Regions from separate parts of the Homo sapiens genome. Here region 1 is linked to region 2. The links are contacts of gene promoters, found by promoter capture Hi-C in human tissues and cell types (Jung and others, 2019). All regions are on one chromosome and are shown on one strand. The core of a region is centred on a gene start or on the middle of the fragment in contact, and the rest is flanking DNA. Distances in the headings are between cores, read along the strand shown.

Region 1 (4,395 bases), core at 1,351-3,850, 750 kb before region 2:
AATTTCCATTTTTAGGATGGAGTAGGGATGATGGGGAGACAGAGCCAATACTTTGCATCCACCTGGTTTTCGTATAGCGTAGCAACTCTTTCTTGCAGTCATTTGCTTTTCAGCTTTGGCCCACTCACCCCTGCTGCCTATGAGGCATCAAAAACACATGTATCAGAAACCCTTTGCAGGCTCCCCCATTCTGAAGCAGCCCCTGTTCCCTCACCCTTCTACCAAGTCCATGTCATCCAGCATTTCTGAGTTACCTGTCTCAGTAACTCTGAGTTCCATGGTGAATTAAATGAACTCTGTGGATTTCGTGTCTACCTTCAGAGTCTTCTCTGTGTACGTATTGTAGAGTTTCAGAAAACTTGCTATGGAGTGGATAAATAAATCAAAAGCTGCATTCAGTCCCTAAGTTAGAGGTTTCTTTTTTTAATTAGATATGTAAATTATACTTTCTTGTTTTATAAAATCTGTACCACTGAGAAAAATCTCTTCTGTTTGTTTTAGTTCCACCTCTTGAAGGTTTTGTAATGAATCGAGTGCAAGGTGATTATTTTGAAACTCTACTCTATAAGATATTTGTTTCAATAGATGAGCACACAAATGTTGCAGAGGTAAGTTTGACAACGTCTCATGAAAATATAATCTCAAGATTGTAAGTTTGTGTAAAGTAAGTAAAGTTATTTAATATGGTAGTATCTTTTTAAAATCTCCATGTGGGGAGATCATACCATTATTACACTTAAATGTCATTATTCTTAACGTTCTTATAAATGTATATTAAAATTTAAGTTAATAATTTATAGTTTGGTTAACTTTTTATATGACTTTTTGTACTAAAGTATTGTAGACTATATTGATCTATCCAGGAATTTTATTTTAAATGAGACGAAATTAAAGAGTAAGGAATCTTAAATTGTTATGGTCACTCCATGGATTTGTACTATAAGGATCTTAGAGATAGGGAAAGAAGAAAGTTCTGAATTCAAAATTTATTCAGTCTTCTAATTATTCATAACTTAAAATTTTGCTGATTATGATTATATTGGTCTATTACAACTGTGTAATGTGCTGTTAATTCTAAGAATGTAAAAATAAATTTTAATTTTATCTTCTAGCTTGCAAATGTCCTTGAGATTGACTTATCCCTGGTTAAGGTATGTTATTTTTATACTCATTTACTGGTGATGTGATAACTGAGTGGATTTTACTAGTAGATTTTTATCTTGATAAGCTACTGAGAAACGAAGACATTGAGATTGTTGTTAGCTGTCTGAGAGAACGTGCACAGTAAAGGGGCACTTGCAAAGACAGGAAAGAGCAGGAAAAGGGGCCCTAAATTGGGATTCAAACACATGGACTGAAAAGAGAGCACTCATGCAAGAAGCAGCCCAAGCAGTATCTTGTAGTGAGGTCCGTTAAAGCAACAACTCCTGCTTCATTAGGGGTAGATGTAGGGAGGGCAAGGCCAGAGAGTTGGAAACATTCCCTCCTATACATTTATGAAGACTTCAAGGGAGGAGCAGGTCTACTGAAAATAGTTTCTGGTTACGGGATGAAAATGTTTGAGAATCACTATTAGTCTATTACACTATTTTTTCTCTACAAATATTGTGATGTCTAGTTTATTTTAAATGGTAATTAGTTTCCTTTATATTCCTTTCAGAATGCTGTTTCAATGTATTGCCGATTGGGCTTTGCCCATAAGAAGGGACAAGTAATTAATTTGGATCAACTTCATTCATCATGGAAGAATGTTCCATCCGTAAACAGATTAAAGTAACTTAAATTTATTCAGTATGAGCTATTAGAGTTTCCTTTTGAAAAGACATTTAATTTTACATACATAAATTTATTTATTTATTTATTTATTGAGACAAAGTCTCTCTCTGTCATCCAGGCTGGAGTGCGGTGGCGCGATCTCGGCTCACTGCAACCTCCACCTCCCCGTTTCAAGCGATTTTCATGCCTCAGCCTCCTGAGTAGTGGGGACTATAGGTGTGCACCACCATGCCCAGCTAATTTTTTGTGTTTCTGTTAGAGGTGGGGTTTCACCATGTTAGCCAGGCTGGTGTCGAACTCCTGGCCCCAACTGATCCACCCACCTTGGCCTTCCAAAGTGTTGGGATTGCAGGTGTGAGCCACTGCACCTGGCCCAGAAATTTTATTTATTCAACCTGTCAGTTGAGGTGAGCCCTTTATATTAGTGATTTTTAATCTTGTGTGTGTGTTACAGATCTTTTTTGGAATATAATGAAAACTAAGAAGGCTTTTCCCAGAAAAAAAGCAAATAAATATTTTACATAAAATCTTGAAGGGTTCTTGAATTTTCTGAAGCCTATCCGTGGATCTTAGTTAAGAACCCTTGTTGTATGTAGGCAGAGCATTTTTGGGCTGCGACTTAATTTTGGGCTTGAATATAAGACTGAATTTTGATGGATTGTTCATAATTTAAGTCTTAACTTCAGTAGATATTTTAATGTAAGGTCATTTATATGATTTTTAAAAAGCAAATGCATTCTTCATTAATAGGAGTACCTTAGATCCACAGAAGATGCTCTTGTCATGGGATGGAGGGGAAAGTAGGAGTCCTGTACAAGAAGCTTCATCGGCAACTGACACTGATACAAATAGTCAAGAAGATCCAGGTTAGCAGTAACTCAGTTTAACATAGAGTCTGTCTGTAGGTACGGCACATGTCCAAACATACACTCTTACAGTTACCTTCTAATTTTAGTTTAGATTTTATTCAATACGCAGTCTTTGAGTGTTTTACTATATTTTGGGCACTGTGCTAAGTCCTAGGTATATAAAACTGACAAGAATATGGTACCTTTCTTCTAAGAATTAAGTCTAAGGAGAGAGAAGGGAATGTGACCAAACAAATTACAACAACACGGGCACCAATTATAATGCTTGTAGGGTGCAAAGAGGAAGAGACCCTTAATTGGCTAGAGAGGTTTGGGAAGCCTTCACAGAGAAGATGTTATTTGAGCTAAGAATGAAGAAGAGCCTGCCAGCTGGTCAGGGAAGGAAAGCCATTTCAGCCCGAGAGAATAGTGAGGCTAAGCCCAAAGGGAAACACAGCATAGTGGACAAGGCCTAGGGTTAAATGCTTTTTAATATTCTTTGCGCTTCAAAATAGGTATGGCTGGAACTTCTTATGGCTATAATAGTGCCTTTTTAAAATTATGTACTTTCTGGTTATCAAATAAAGCTGAAATGAAATACTTTCACTCCAAATGGTAAGCAAAGAATAATTTCCATTTACTTGATTTTAAATTATGGTGTTTTTCAGCTGACACAGCCAGTGTAAGCAGCCTGAGTCTGTCTACAGGACACACGAAGCGCATCGCATTCCTGTTTGACTCCACTCTTACTGCCTTCTTAATGATGGGAAATCTTTCACCAGTAAGCCCAATTCTTGTTTAAATATGAAGGTGTTTAAAATAAATACTAGATATAAAATAATTTAATGCTTTTATATCTTTTTTAAAGTACTACATTTATTCCCGAAGCACAACTGACTTAGAGGAGTATAATAACTTTCAGGGAAGGTCCTTTTGTAATTGGAAGAATTAGCCCCTCACCCCCCAATCCTTAAGTTTAAATATATTTGAAAGGATAATATAAATATTTGATAGTATGCTTAGCATAAAAAGGGAGAAGTAGAACTTTAATATTTTGTTTCTTTTTTTCAGAACTTGAAAAGTCATGCAGTCACAATGTTTGAAGTAGGCAAACTCTCAGATGAGTCTCTGGACAGCTTTCTTATAGAACTAGAAAAGGTAAATGTAGATTGCATGTAAGGGGATGTTAGGGCATTTGGAATCTGTCCTTGCTTGACAGAATGCCAATTATACAGTCTGTTGATTTGGATGGGCTTTCAGTGTATTCTTGCTCGTTCCTACCTCATTCCCCAAATTAGTACTCTTACAGTCATTTAGACTTAAACATATTGAGTGGGTGAATTGATTTTGTGATTTTTAAAGTGATATGTCTACCTCATCTAATTCTTAACATAATTTGAGATAATGAAGAAATGGGGTATAGAAATTTTAGTCTGTAATGTTTTAAGTTGAATTTTTGCTAAAATAGCCTTTCAATTTTTTTTCTGGTATGACTCTCTAAGATCACCTCTTAAGCAGTTTGATTTGAAGTTTTTGTTCCATTTACCTTGAATCTGGAACAATATCCCTGGGTATCATATTTATGTCCGCTCTCACTATCCCTTTTAGCATCTTGAAGACTTCAGCCATATTTGCTCTTAACCACCTTTTTCCCCGTGAGTACAGCCCTAGTTTTCCTTAGCTCTAAATAAATCTGATTGCCCTTTATTGGTGTTTTTCATTCTTCGGATATTTTATTCTGGCCTCTTTGTATTCAAATAGTTTGTGTGCC
Region 2 (4,758 bases), core at 1,534-4,033:
GAACTTTGGGAGGCGGAGGTGGAAGGACTGCTTAAGGCCAGCAATTCAAGACCAGCCTGAGCAACATAGCAGGACACAGTGGTCTACAAAAAAAAATTAGCCTGGTATGGTGGTGAGCACCTCTAGTCTCAGCTACTTGGGAGGATGAGGCAGGAAGATCACTTGAGCCTAGGAGGTCAATGCTGGAGCCATGATCTAAGCCACTGTACTCCAGCCTAGGTGACAGAGCAAGACCCTGTCTCAAAACAAACAAAAACCCCCACTGTTGGGGTATAGTTCTAAGGGGCAGCCACTTGTTATGCAAGTAGAAAAGAGAGAAATGTAGAAAGAATTACAATGGTCAGCTGTCTTAAACCAAAATCTAAGGTAATTTTCATAAAATGGGTTCAATTTTTCATGCAATTGTCCCATGTGAAGCTTGTTCCAGGGATTTAATATGATGTTTTTCAAAATATTGTTCAGAACTCATTATTAGGCTAAGAAATTAGTCTAGCGATTCATGGGCAGAATTTTTTAAATGACACAAACTGAAAGATTAAATATCAGAGTAAGTCATATACCAAGGATAGAATGCATAATATGATCTCATTTCTGTTTCAAAAGGAAAAAAAAAAACCTTGATATGTTGTATTTTTATGAATCTGTATAACAATCTATTAAAAAATTAGGGAAGGCTATACTTCAAACTTTTAATATGGTTACTTTAGGAGAGTGGGGCTAAAGGAAACCATACAGAAAAAAATTTATTTCAATTATTTATTCCAATAAAGTCACCTTCTTTAAGAAGTCTTTTCTTGCTTATTTTATCTGATGCTAATCCCTTTACTAATTTTCTTATCACCTTAGCACTAAAGCCACTCATTCATACTTTCCCAAACAGTCATTGTACTACGCCCCTAGGAAAAAAATATAAATACCATACCAGTATCTGCCTTAAGAGTTTGATCTAGTGGGAAAGGCATACTCATATTTAATTATAAATAATGTGGTATAAGTTTTAAGGAGTGAGTAGGCAGACAGGCAACAGGGTAGTTGGTAGGCAGAGGAATATTTTGGCCCCAAACTGCCACTCTAAAACCTTGTCAGAGGTAACAAACAGCATGCACAAGTGTTTATAGAGCAGCCCAGGGATGGGCTAGAAAAGTGGGCAGGACTGGACCACAGAAGGGCTTTGTATGGTGTGTAAGCATTTAGGCTATCCTGAGGAGCGTAAATGAAAGATTTGAAGCAAAAGAAACATTTAGCTGATTTGATTTTTAGATACACCAAAATGGAGTCTACATGGAGGATGGATTTAAGACATTAACTTGAGGCAGGAATTTGGTTGTATAACATAAACACACTTTTAAAAAGTTATGTGGCCTTTCTTTACGGAGTACTTCATGGCTCTTTATTCCATCTCCCTCATCAATTATATCAAAGGTTAGGATGGAAAGGCTAAGACACGGCAATGTCTTATTTGACAACCCCTCCCCAAACCCCTACTCCAGGCTTTCCCACAGCAATTTCAAAACCTTTTTCCTGGCACTTAACATATTCTCCCCTGCATTTGCTTTTGACTGTACAGTACATAGGTCTTAGGTCTCCAGTCTGAAAACTGCACCACTAGATTTTACAGTTCCACAGGACTTAGCACAACGTCTTTGAAAAAAAAAAATACTGCTTAAATAACTCTCAGATCTAAATGTATAATCCTAATCTCTTGATTGCCAGACCACATTCCCAATTGCCCAGATATCTCTACCTGGATGTCCTATAATTATCTCAAACTTAACCTAATCCAAATGGACCTGGGTACCTCTCTTCACCGCCAAACTAGTCATGCTTCCATTTCATATTTAAGTACTTTTCCAAACCCTGAGTCATCTTTGTTCACTCTCTACTACCGGCCATGAACACTCAGCTGCTAAATGCTGCACACATCTCTTCCATTTCTCTCTCTTTTCCATTACCCTAGTTTAAGCTCTTGAAATGCTTCCCTACCTCTCCCTATTTCCCACAAAACCTACATAATAGCTATCAGGATTACCTTGCTAAAGCAGAGGTGTGATCACTGTCATTTCCCACCTTCAGGTAGCTGGAAACCCCACAAAACGAGGATCATGCCCATTTAAATCCCGCAGCATTCTCCCTCTCGTTCTACTGATGCCGACTGGATCATTGTACTTGCCAAGTACAGTTTGTTTTTCTCCCCATTACTTGTGTTTTCTAGTTTCTCCACCAGATGGTGATGACAGTACAACTGGGAGCTTTGTGCCCTGTGTTCCTAGGCCAGTGCCAGGCCCACTTGAGGCGCTCACTAACTATGATATGAACGAATGAATGCTTGAGTGAATTGGTCCCCAGAAGCGGTCAGCCTCTCCGCCAAGGCAGAGGGGAAGGGCCGGGAGGTGCACGTGGGATGAATGGAAACATAGTGATTGGCCTTTTTGGAGTTTTCTTCTTAAAAAACTGAATACATTACAGATGTTGAAAACAGCACAAAAATCATAACTGTACGGCTTGTTAATTTTTACAAATAAATACACCCTCGTGAATCCAGAACCTAGATCAAGAACCAGAGCATTACCAGCACCCAGAAACCTCCCCGCGCCCTCCTCCACTGAGCGGCCCTTTCAACCCTTACAATGCCGGAGGGCGCAATTCCTGGGTCCTGTGACCTTGGTGACCGACGCCCGGGACAAGTCAGAAAGACCCAAGGGCGTGGAAAACGCTCCTCTTACCGATAAACTTGAAGCGACTCATGACTGCGCATGGAGGACCTCCCCAGCGGAAGCGGAAGTGGCCGCCGGCAACTCCGCCCTTCCGGCTGGCCCCGCTCAGTCACCCGCAGCAGGCGTGCAGTTTCCCGGCTCTCCGCGCGGCCGGGGAAGGTCAGCGCCGTAATGGCGTTCTTGGCGTCGGGACCCTACCTGACCCATCAGCAAAAGGTGTTGCGGCTTTATAAGCGGGCGCTACGCCACCTCGAGTCGTGGTGCGTCCAGAGGTAAGGGATGGGGACCCAGGACTCGGGGAGGTGACCCTCGGGGCCCCATGGAGGTGGAGAGGCCCCTGGGTACCTGGAGGTTCAAGGACTTCGGGAACGGAATTGGAAGGTGGCCTCTCGCTTCACAGAATCCTATGGTAGACCCGGGTTCAAATCCAGGCTTCGCCACTTATGGCCGGGAGACCTTGTAGAGTTGCTTGTCGGGTCTGGGCGTCAGCTTTTTGTTTAGTAAAACGGACGCACGACCAGCGCAGAGGGTCGCAGGAAAATTAAGTGAAATAAAGGAAAGTGCCTAAAATTGTAATTGTCATGGGTCCAGCGCTCGCTCAATCGTTTTCTTCACGATCTTCTCCTTTCCAATATTAACAGCAATAAACTATGCATTATTTTCTTCAGTCTGCAAAACTCTAGGAGTTAGGAATTATCTTAAGCTTATTTTACAGATAAGAAGATGAGCACAGCTGGTAACTTGCGCAAGGTGATAGAGTTTCTAAGTGTCTGAGCCAGGGTTAAAATTTAGGTCTTTCTCCAAAGCATCATCATTCTCCCACCCCTCCCATTAGCTTTTCTCTTTTTAGCTTCATCTAGTCCTTTTCATTACCTTTACATCTTTTTCACCTCTTACATAATTCTCTTTCGACCTCTATCCGTCTGAGACTAGTCTGAGAACATAGTGTTAAAATGTGTAGATTTTAATCACCTAAATTCATTGCAGGGTGGGCTAACAACCCAAGATGTGTGAGTGCCTCGCCTCCACTCCAGTCTTACGACTCTCCAAACGTAGTTTTATAAGAAGGCCTTCTGGGAAAAAAACTCTATGGAAAATGGAGTAGGCCTGGAAGAATTACAGAGGGTACCCTCGAAGCCCAGATTGCATATATGTGACTATTAGAAAATCACTGACATACTTCTCTTGATTTGGCAGGAAGATGGCCAAGTACAATGTGATGGGATTGTTAGTTTCTTCCTTGAGTTTTCCTTATTTATTTATTGATTTGACAGAATTTGCAATTCAGATTCTATGCTCTATGCTAAATATATAAATGTTAGTAAATCCATTTTTGAGCAGCAGCAGCTCACGGATTAGTGGGGAAAATGGACATGTAAACAAATCGATGATGAAGGAAGTTGAGCCATCAGGGATTCAGGTATCCCAACACAAATGGTAAATGTTTGAGGTGATGAATATCCAAATTACCCTGATTTGATCATTATACATTATATGGATGTATTAAAATATCACATGTACCCCATAAATAGGTACAATAATTATGTGTCAAAAAAAGTTAAACATGAAAAAAAGAATTCAAGCAATACTGAACTATAGCTGGGAATACTAAAGTCCATAGTTCTAGAGGAAAATGATATAAACTAGCTACTATGACAGTTATGGCTCAGCATTTTTTAGATCTGACATTCTTTCTCAATCCTTGCCTTAATTTCTTCCTCCATTTGCCCTCATTGTGCTGTTCTCTGTGGTTCCATCCTAGGCATACTGTGTTGTTGTATGTACTCGGGCAGCCTCATTTAGTGCTGTCACCACCTGCGCTCATTTGTCTCTAGAGCTGTAGTTCGAATTGCTTGTTAGATCACGACTGTTGGCTGGGCATGATGGCTCACGCCTATAATCCCAGTACTTTGGGAGGCTGAGGTGAGTGGATCACCTGAGGCCAGGAGTTCAACAGCCTGGCCTACATGTGAAACCGCGTCTCTACTAAAAATACAAAAATTAGCCAGGCGTGGTGGTGGGTGCCTGTAATCCCAGCTACTCA

What was found. The method cuts DNA at HindIII sites, captures the fragments that hold promoters and counts their contacts. A contact is called where the count stands out against the background at its distance.
Region 1: a contact is called between a fragment that was not itself captured here and the fragment with the promoter of TATDN1 in region 2, in 1 of the 25 tissues and cell types used here (spleen).

Annotation. Positions count from the first base shown.
Region 1 is chr8:123,783,969-123,788,363 of GRCh38, forward strand. It overlaps FAM91A1 (family with sequence similarity 91 member A1), which reads left to right. Exons shown (of 24, transcript NM_144963.4): 9 at 502-608; 10 at 1,113-1,151; 11 at 1,661-1,773; 12 at 2,527-2,642; 13 at 3,293-3,405; 14 at 3,696-3,782. Among named protein-coding and RNA genes, the nearest start is that of FAM91A1, 18 kb to the left of the region's middle. The HindIII fragment of the contact is 4,773 bases long and covers 215-4,395 here.
Region 2 is chr8:124,536,302-124,541,059 of GRCh38, forward strand. It overlaps TATDN1 (TatD DNase domain containing 1), which reads right to left and starts at 2,784. Exons shown (of 12, transcript NM_032026.4): 1 at 2,724-2,784. The coding sequence starts at 2,745. It overlaps NDUFB9 (NADH:ubiquinone oxidoreductase subunit B9), which reads left to right and starts at 2,822. Exons shown (of 4, transcript NM_005005.3): 1 at 2,822-2,986. The coding sequence starts at 2,886. RefSeq lists an enhancer at 2,645-2,714. The HindIII fragment of the contact is 5,555 bases long and covers 1-4,758 here.